Regions from separate parts of the Homo sapiens genome. Here region 1 is linked to region 2. The links are contacts of gene promoters, found by promoter capture Hi-C in human tissues and cell types (Jung and others, 2019). All regions are on one chromosome and are shown on one strand. The core of a region is centred on a gene start or on the middle of the fragment in contact, and the rest is flanking DNA. Distances in the headings are between cores, read along the strand shown. Region 1 overlaps POLR1B (RNA polymerase I subunit B). Region 2 holds the start of MERTK (MER proto-oncogene, tyrosine kinase).

Region 1 (5,177 bases), core at 2,061-4,560, 670 kb after region 2:
CTATCAGTTATTCATATATTTAAACCTTTTGATATTGTTCCATAAGACATTGAGTTTCTGTTCTCTTTTTTCTTTATTTTCTTCAGATTGGATCTTTTTTTTTTTTTCCCGAGATGGAGTCTCACTTTGTTGCCCAGACTGGAGTGCAGTGGTACAATCTCGGCTCACTGCAACCTCTGCCTCCCATGTTCAATAAATTCTCCTGCCTCAGCCTCCTGAGGAGCTGGGATTACAGGCACACACCACCATGCCCAGCTAATTTTTGTGTTTTAGTAGAGATACGGTTTCACCATGTTGGCCTGGCTGGTCTCAAACTCCTGACCTGAAGTGATCTGCCTGCCTCAGCCTCCCAAAATGCTGGGGTTACAGGTGTGAGCCACTGCACCTGGCCCAGATTGGATTATTTTTATTGACCTATTATCACAGTCACTTTTTATTCTGTCTTCTACTGAATTTTTGCTTACAGTCATGTGCCCTTAACGACAGGGATACCTTCGAAGAAGTGAGTCATATGTGATTTTGTCGTAGTGTGAACATCATAGAGTGAACTTACACAAACCTAGATGGCAGAGACTACTACACACCTAGTATATGGTATAGCCTGTTGCTCCTAGGCTACAAACCTGGGTGGCATGTAACTGTACTGTGTACTGTCTACAGTTGTAAGACAATGGCAAGGATTTGTGTAGCTAAACATAGAAAAGGTACAGTAAAAATATGGGATCACCATAGTATATATGCCATCCTGCATTGACTAAAACATTGTTATGCAGTGCATGCCTGTATTTTTCAAGTCCAGCACTTCTACTTGTTTCTTTTTTTTTTCTTTTTTTTTTTTTTGAGACAGGGTATCGCTCTGTCACCCAGGCTGGAGTGCAGTGGCACGATCTTGGCTCACTGCAACCTCTGCCTCCCCAGTTCAAGCAATTTTCCTGCCTCTACCTCCTGAGTAGCTGAGATTACAGGCATGTGCCACCATGCCCAGCTAATTTTTTGTATTTTTAGTAGAGGCAGGGTTTTATCATGTTGGCCAGGCTGGTCTCAAACTCCTGACCTCAAATGATCTGCCTGCCTCAGCCTCCCAAAGTGCTGGGATTACAGGCATGAGCCATTGCGCCTGGCCTGACTTGTTTCTTTTTTTATAGTTTCTTTCTTCTCTAAGATTTCTTATCTTCATTCATTGTGGGCATGTTTTCCTTTATATTTTGAACATAGTTTTATATGATGGGTGTTGTAAAATCATTATCTGCAGATTCCAATGTCTGGGTCATCTTAGTATCAGTCTCTTTGAGTATAAGTCAAGTTTCACCATTTCTTTGTATGCCCAGTAATATCGGATTGTATTATGAACATTGCGAGGAGTATGTTTTAAACCCTGGATCCTGTTAGGGTCCTCTGAAGAGGATTGGTTTTGTTTGTTTTTAGTGTGGTGTTTGGCCTTCAATTACATTTTAATTTTTTTCATTTTATGTCTTTCCTTCTTAATACACAGTCCATCACCTGGTTCAGTGCATGTCACCAAAAATTCTCCAGGGGAAGAGGATTGGTTTTTAGTTTTCACTGGTACTTAACTTGGTGAACGTGGCAGTTGAAGTACATTCTTCAGCCTTAGGTGGGCTGCTGTGATCTGTCCCATGCATGCATAGTTCAGGAGTCCACCAAAGATTCGGACCCAATTTATATGCTGAATTTAAGGGTCTCCCTTTGTGGTTCTCTCATTTCTGAAATGTTCCCCCTTCCCAATTGTTGTCATGCTCAGAACTCTATTTCTTGGTTCTTCAAGCCAGTAAGATTGTGGGTTTCTATCTAAGTTGTAGCTGCCACACTGGGCCATAAGGCAAAAATAAATACATAAATACTTAAAAACCTGGAAATTCACCCAGTGTGTTCCTTTTGTCCAAGTAAAAATTCTTCTCAGCTTCTGACAGCTTTTGGTTACTCTCCAGTGCTGTATGTGTAGTTGGGGGTCTGCGTCTCATACTTATGTGTTGAGGGTGGTCTAGTAAGAGTAGCCCTTTATTACTGGAAGCTCTAAGTCTATAATTTTTTTAAAAATTTCACTTGTATGTATTTATATTTTAAAATCATTTTGTCGTGAAATGATTCTCTGTACTGTGAGGTAGTACACAGAGGAATCTCACCCCATGCTCCACTACTTAGAATTAAATACATATTCCGCTGTAAGAAAGTAATCTAATTACGTAATAATTCCTATCCCCTTTTCTTCCCCGAGTAGTGATAGCCTGTAATTTGCGTACTTCCTTTCTGTCCCCTTCTAAAGCTTTTATTACATCATACATGTATCCATAAACTAAGTATAGAATTGTTTGGGGTGTGTTGCAAATACACATAAATCGTATCATATTAAATGTCAGTCTGCACTTTCTCCCACTCAGCATGGTTTTCCTGGTCTGGTCACGTTGATACATTTAGGTTTACTTCATTTTCACAGCTTATGTATTAGTCTAAAGTAAGCATAACTACCATGACTATTTATTTGTTCATTTTCCTCTGATGGATATTTAGTTGTTTCCAGTGTTGCGTATCACACCTATAATCAAGATGAAAGCAGCAGAAAATGCTAAGATGTTTTTTCTCCATGTAGGTAAGCAAACTATGGGCTTTCCACTTCTCACTTATCAAGACCGATCGGATAACAAACTGTATCGTCTTCAGACTCCTCAGAGTCCCTTGGTGAGACCCTCCATGTATGATTATTATGACATGGATAACTATCCAATTGGGACCAATGCCATCGTTGCTGTGATTTCTTACACTGGCTATGATATGGAAGATGCCATGGTAAGTTTTACCAGGAAATGTTGTTCCAATCTTTTTATTTTTTAACTTGTTTGTTTACTGTGAAATCACTGAAGGAATATTTTTGTGTACCCAAGTACCTAGTATTTGGCACGTGATGTTCTATTAAATGATTAGTTCTTAGTCTAAGTTGAAAGTGGGCAAGCCTTGAGGAATATCCACTAAATATTCAGATACACGTATGTCTTGCATATTTGAGTGCATATTATGAGTAAATTTTGAAGTTTGGTTTTGGATCTATCTACCTTTTATATTTAAGTATGATTAGATTTTAAGCTATTTCTGTGTGCCTGGGTTTTTGTTTTTCTTGTTTTTTGTTTGTTTGTTTTTTGTTTTTTATTTTTGAGACGGAGTCTCGCTCTGTTGCCCAGGCTGGAGTGCAGTGGCACGATCTTGGCTCACTGCAACCTCCACCTTCTGGGTTCAAGCAGTTCTCCTGCCTCAGCCTCTCGAATAGCTGGGACTACAGGCACCCATCACCATGCCTGGCTAATTTTCGTGTTTTTAGTAGAGATGGGGTTTCACCATGTTGGCCAGGCTGGTCTCGAACTCCTGACCTCAAGTGATCCACCTGCCTTGGCCTCCCAAAGTGCTGGAATTACAGGCGTGAGCCACCGTGCCCAGCCATGTCTGGGTTTTTGTAGTTAGTATCAGTGATTTGGAAAATGTGAGGAAAGTTAAAATGTGATGCCAGTTATCCTAAACCAAGTATGATAGTCCCACCTAGTTTTATTTTGAAAATCCTCAATTGGCCTCAGTCTTTTAACGATTCTTTTACTTCACAGATTGTGAATAAGGCCTCTTGGGAACGAGGCTTTGCCCATGGAAGTGTCTACAAGTCTGAGTTCATAGACCTCTCTGAAAAAATTAAACAAGGAGATAGTAGCCTGGTGTTTGGCATCAAACCTGGTGACCCACGCGTTCTGCAGAAGTTAGATGACGATGGATTGCCGTTTATAGGAGCAAAACTGCAGTACGGAGATCCGTATTACAGCTACCTCAACCTCAACACCGGGGAAAGTTTTGTGATGTACTATAAGTAAGTTTGGGTATCCAAGCTGTTTTGTTTTTGTTTTTGTTTTTGTTTTGAGACAGGGTCTCAGTGTGTCAGCCGGGCTGGAGTGCAGTGGAGTGATCTCAGCTCACTACAACCACCACCTCCCGGGCTCAAGCAATCCTCTCGCCTCAGCCTTTGAGTAGCTGGGACTCCAGGCATGGACCACCATGCCCAGCTAATTTTTTGTATTTTTAGTATAGACGGTTTCACCATGTTGCCCAGGTAGGTCTCGAACTCCTGGGCTCAAGTGATCCACCTGCTTCAGCCTCCCAAAGTGCTAGGATTACAGGCCTGAGCCACCATCCCTGGCCTATTTGTGCTTTTTTTAAAAACTGTATTATCCAAACTTTGTCATCTTTCTCACATACAATGTTAGCAATGTTTCCTAGCCAAAATGTTGAGCTCATACCTCTTATTAGAAATGTCTTATTTTAGCTTATTTTACAATATAATTTATTTCAATAGGCTTTCATAATAATTTTTCAGTTGCTTTTGTTGCTAGTTTTCTTTCAGATGAACATAATTCTGTAGTGAATATCACCAATAGCTCTATTCATACCATCTCTGTTTGTATTGGAGAATAAAGGTAAGAATGAGTTTTGCAGGCCAGGCACAGTAGTTCACACCTGCAATCCCAACACTTTGGGAGACCAAAACAGGAGGATTCCTTAAGCACAGGAGTTCATGATCAGTCTGGGCAATGTAGTGGGGCCCTATCTCTACAAAAAAAATTTAAAGACTAGCCAGGCCTAGTGGCATATACCTGTAGTCCCAGCTACTCAGGAGGCTGAGGTGGGAGGATTGCTTGAACCCGGAAAGTCAAGGCTGCAGTGAGCTGTAATTGCACCACCGCACTCCAGCCTGGGCAACAGAGTGAGACCCTGTATCATAAAAAAAAAAAAAAAAAAAAAAGTTTTACAAATATCCTTTATGAAGCACTAATTATATCAATGAAACTTATCTCCATAAGTTAAAACAAATAGGTTGACCTTATATGGTTTACTTTTTCCTAGGAGTAAAGAAAATTGTGTTGTGGATAACATCAAAGTGTGCAGTAATGACACTGGGAGTGGAAAATTCAAGTGTGTTTGCATCACTATGAGAGTGCCTCGGAACCCAACTATCGGAGATAAATTTGCCAGTCGCCATGGGCAGAAGGGCATTTTAAGCAGATTGTGGCCGGCTGAGGACATGCCTTTTACTGAGAGTGGGATGGTCCCAGACATTCTGTTCAATCCCCATGGTTTTCCATCCCGCATGACCATTGGGATGTTAATTGAGAGTATGGCCGGGAAGTCTG
Region 2 (4,794 bases), core at 1-2,500:
TTGCTGTCGGTGTAAGTAATAACCTGTCTAAACCCATCTGGGCTGCCTGTCTCCTTCCCGTAGCCAAATCTACGGGAAGTGTCCAGCCAGTGTAGGGGTCAAGGGACCGCTTGACGAGACCAACGTAAATTGAAGAGGCGTAAGGAGATGAGGCCAAAGAGGAAAGGGGACCAGGTCACGTAGAACCTCGTAGACCACTGCAGAACCTTGGCTTACGTACGCAGAGACAGCAGGAACCACTGATAGGTTTAGGGAGATTTGAGGAGAGGGACATGATTTGGCTTATGTTATGTTGTTAAAGGGACCACATTAAAATACATTCATTCTAAAAGTGTTACCTTTAAGAAACTACGTATATAAATTAAGTTACTGTTGCCATTATTAGCGTAAGTAGTTACATTTCTCTTACGACTCACTCTCTGCTACTGCCTCTTGGACCCTGCACACCTTGTGGAGGCCCATGAGAGTGACGTGCTGTGGTTCCCCCTCTCCCCACTCCTGCTCTGCACTTTGTCATTCACGTTCATCTCCCTCCTTGAGTGTCACCTCTCTCTGGCTCGTCACGGAGCCACGGCAAAGCGTCCTTTCCCAGGAACCCCTCCCCCTGGGGAGGTGAGCTCCTCGCCGCCAGGGCCGTGTCGCGCACCTCGGGCCGGGTACCCAGGCGGCGCTCGGCGGCGAGCGGAATGGATGTGGAGGAGCGCTCGGCAGGGAGCGCTGCCGCCCTGGCCTTGGCCTCTGGGAGCGGCGCGGCCAGGGTTTTCTGTGTCAGCCAAGCCCGGAATGCGGGGGCGCCTCTGGACCCTCCTCTTGGGTCTGGGGGCTGCCTCGGGCATCCTCTACTCCTCTCCCACCTTCTGTCCTTCCCCATCTCCCACCCACACGTGTGGGGCCCCGGACCCGCGCAGCGGCCAGAGCCTTCCGCTGTGGACCTCCAGTCCACCCCTCCCCTTCACTTCTCTTTCCGGCTCCCTCCGGGTCTCTCAGCCCCCTCCCCTTCCTCTCCGCCCCCTTCCCCGCCGTCTGCCCAGCGGCGGCCTTCGGCCCGCCCCTTCTCTCCAACCCCCTCCCTTTCCCCTTTACGCCCCTCCTCCCCCTCGTCCTCCCGCCCCCTCCCACCCCAACCTGCTGGGCCCGCCGGGACTCGCCCCCCTGCCCGCTCCTCTCCTCCAGCCCCGGCCGGCCTCGGCTCGGCCCCCGGCCCGCCCCTTCCAGCCCTCGGCACCTCCCGCCGGCCGCTTGGCTCCGCCACTCGGCACTCACTGCCCGGGCCGCCCGGACAGGGAGCTTCGCTGGCGCGCTTGGCCGGCGACAGGACAGGTTCGGGACGTCCATCTGTCCATCCGTCCGGAGAGAAATTACAGATCCGCAGCCCCGGGATGGGGCCGGCCCCGCTGCCGCTGCTGCTGGGCCTCTTCCTCCCCGCGCTCTGGCGTAGAGGTGAGTGCGCCCGGCTGGGGGCCAGGCGAGGGGGTGGGGGCTCCCAGGAGGAAGCAGGGGCCTCTGGGGAGGGAGCGCGTCCACAGGGGCGCGCCTGGCTGCTGGACAAGTTTGCAAACACCCTCCACCCACTGCGGTGCCAGAGGAGGGGGCGTAGGCGAACCTACCGTCCACTGACCGCGGCGCCTCAAGCGTCCCGAGGGCACCCAGCCTGGCTTGCGGGTGCGCATCGTGGTGAAGCCGGGTCGGGGTCGGCGTTGCAGGCTCCCCTCTTCACCGCAGAGGAGGAAATCGAGCTCGGCCGGGCGCGCTGCAAGTCCTGAAGTTCCGACGAGTGGAACGTAGGTAGCAGGTCTGGTCTGGGATGCGACGAGAACTTTCCACTAGAGTTGCATGGTGGGGCCCCGCTCTGGCCGGAGTCCCGGGGGCCACAGATCCGGTCTCCCGAGGGACCGGCGCGGGGCGAACGAACGGGCTGCGGGAGTCGGAGCCGCAGTCCGGGAGCCGCGATAGACTGAGGCCGAGCGACGGGCCAGGGGGGGACGGCAGTCCTGGCTGCTCCCAATGGGCCCTTACGGGCATTATTAGTATCCCTTTTTAGGGGCACCCAGAGAGTGTGGGAAAAGGGGAGCGTTCTTTTCACTCCTGTTATGGCAGAACAGAACTTACAGTGCTCGGCAGCGTTTACGTTTATCTGGATTCAGCGAAGTGTTGTTACAGGCTTTTTTTTTTTTAATTTGAGACCGAGTCTCGCCCTGTCGCCCAGGCTGGAGTGCCGCGGCGCGATCTCGGCTCACTGCAGGCTCCGCCTCCCGGGTTCAAGCGATTCTCCTGCCTCAGCCTCCCGAGTAGCTGAGACTATAGACGCGCGCTACCACGTCCGGCTAATTTTTGTATTTTTAGTAGAGACGGGGTTTCACCATGTTGGCCAGGATGGTCTCGATCTCTTGACCTCGTGATCTGCTCTCCTTGGCCTCCCAAAGTTCTGGGATTACAGTCGTGAGCCACCGCGCCCGGCTTGTTCCAGGCATTTTAATACAAGATGCTGGACTGATACGTGGAGGCAAGGAAGGCCGGTTTCATTCTGCTTGAACAGCTTATTTGGGGAGTGAGTGATGAACAGATTTCAAGTTTGATCGCTGATGCACTTCTTGAGGAGGCTGGAATAAACTTACCAGGCTTTACCCAAAAGAAAAAGAAAGGGGAAAAATGCTAAATAAACACATTCCAAGTATTTTCTCTCAGCTAAAAGGTTTCTATTTCCATTCAGCATGTAGATTTTCTCTCTTTTGATCGAGAATGCACTTGACTAGCCTTCACCTATTACAGTCAAAGATGTTTTTTAGGAATACCTGGAAAGCTCAGTTTATAGTCAAGTAAGTTACTTAAAAGTTTTTCCTTTGAGATTTTCCTTTGAAAGCTCATTTACTCAAATGAAAAATTCTTAAACAGTGCACCCACTTTTTGCACGTTAAATTACATAAGCAATTTATAATTTGGGGCAACATAGCAATTTGAAACAAACTTTAAGAGCCAGGCAAAGAACTAAAGCAGTTCTGTTCTCCACTGCCCCTCCCTCCACCAAACCTTCAAAAATTCCTCAGCATTTCTGCCAGCCCCATTTTTCATAATCTGCTGCAAATCTGTTATTTGTTGCTACTAGTGAGGACTGGCCGTGAATAGTCTTGGAGGTAGTGAATGTGGTGAGAACTATGGAGAAAGTAATGGGAACAATAGTTTTGTGTTAAATACTTAAAAATTGGAGTGCTTTTGTTTTTCTAAAATTTTAAAAGGCTGTAATAACAAATTTTTGTAGCTGACAATCAACTTTAATCAGACAATCATAAAAAGGCCTTTTAAAATCCACCCAGCTGGAAGAATGAAAAGTTTCACCAATCGTTCTTGCACTTTTTGCTTTTGGTTTTGAACTTTACCTATGAGATGTGTGACAGTTTTACATCTCACCTTGTGAAAAGCTTAAAGAATGGGATTCTCACTGGCAGAATTACAGCACAAAGGAGTGCTGTATGAAGAAATTAAACATGGAAATTAGACTCTTCATCTAATTTTAAGATTTTCCTATTACACATTGTGGGTCTGAGTGCTTTGCTGACCACACAGGGGAGACAGAGAGAGAGACAATGAGAATATGTGTGTAGATTCTACACTGTTAGCAGTATAGAAGAATGGGTAAATAAAATTTAAGCATCACTTTAACCCAGGAAATCCCCTCTGCCCCCCAACACACATACACACTACACGTCTCACAAAGACATGCACACACAGAACTGGAACTGCCAAACCAGGAGCATTTCGAGGCTTTCCAGTCTTTCCTTTCTGCTCAGTCTCTGATGGGGGTGCCATTGAGCAGCAAAATGAGGCAAGCGGTGGCTCTCTGAAGGGCCAGGGAGAGGATGGAGCAAGATAAATATAAATGTGGATAAAAATGAATGCATTATGAGGACTTAGCTCATGACGAGGCTGTGTGTGCAGCTAAACTCAACCCTTAGAGTAAATTAGGCTTTTAAGATTCTTTAATGTTAATATTTCTTTTCCAAACTGATATTGTAACATGTATTCCAGTATATTGTAAACATCTTCCCAGAGGGAACTTTTAAGTTGTTCTGTTGCTTGTGGGCTTTATTCCAAAGGCTTCAAATGCTTTTTGAAAGTACATCGTGCATATTTTAAAAATGAATACTTTTAGAAAATTATTCTGACCCATTAAAGTGCTGAGTGGAATTCTTTTCTTTTCTTTCTTTCTTTTTTTTTTTTTTTTGGCAGGTTCTCATTCTGCCACCCAGGCTAGAGTGCAGTGGCACCATCACGGCTCACTGCAACCTCAACCTTCCGGGCTCAAGTGATCCTCCCACCTCAGCCTCCCAAGTAGCTATGACCACAGGCACATACCACCATGCCTGGCTAATTTTTTATTTTTTGTAGAGACAGGATCTCACTATGTTGCCCAGGCTGGTCTTGAACTCCTGGGCTCAAGCGATCTTCCCACCTTAGCCTCTCAGAGTGTGGGGATTATAGGCATGAGCCACCATGCACAGCTGAATACAATTTTTAAAAAATTAACAATAATTATGTTTTTTTGTTTTTGAGATAGAGTTTCACTCTTGCTGTCCAGGCTAGAGTGCAATGGCACAATCTCGGCTCACCGCAACTTCCCGCCTCCCGGGTTCAAGCAGTTCTCCTGCCTCAGCCTCCTGAGTAGCTGGGATTACAGGCATGCACCACCACGCCTGGCTAATTTTGTATTTTTGGTAGAGACAGGGTTTCTCCGTGTTGGTTAGGTTGGTCTCGAACTCCCAACCTCAGGTGATCTGCCTGCCTTGGCCTCCCAAAGTG

Evidence for each region. Contacts are between HindIII fragments. The study calls those that stand out against the background at their distance.
Region 1: a contact is called between a fragment that was not itself captured here and the fragment with the promoter of MERTK in region 2, in 1 of the 25 tissues and cell types used here (liver).

Annotation. Positions count from the first base shown.
Region 1 is chr2:112,569,957-112,575,133 of GRCh38, forward strand. POLR1B (RNA polymerase I subunit B) reads left to right here. Exons shown (of 15, transcript NM_019014.6): 13 at 2,606-2,802; 14 at 3,606-3,859; 15 at 4,891-5,177. Among named protein-coding and RNA genes, the nearest start is that of CHCHD5, 12 kb to the right of the region's middle. The HindIII fragment of the contact is 7,111 bases long and covers 1-5,177 here.
Region 2 is chr2:111,897,357-111,902,150 of GRCh38, forward strand. MERTK (MER proto-oncogene, tyrosine kinase) reads left to right here and starts at 1,251. Exons shown (of 19, transcript NM_006343.3): 1 at 1,251-1,440. The coding sequence starts at 1,380. RefSeq lists an enhancer at 390-719. The HindIII fragment of the contact is 10,682 bases long and covers 1-4,794 here.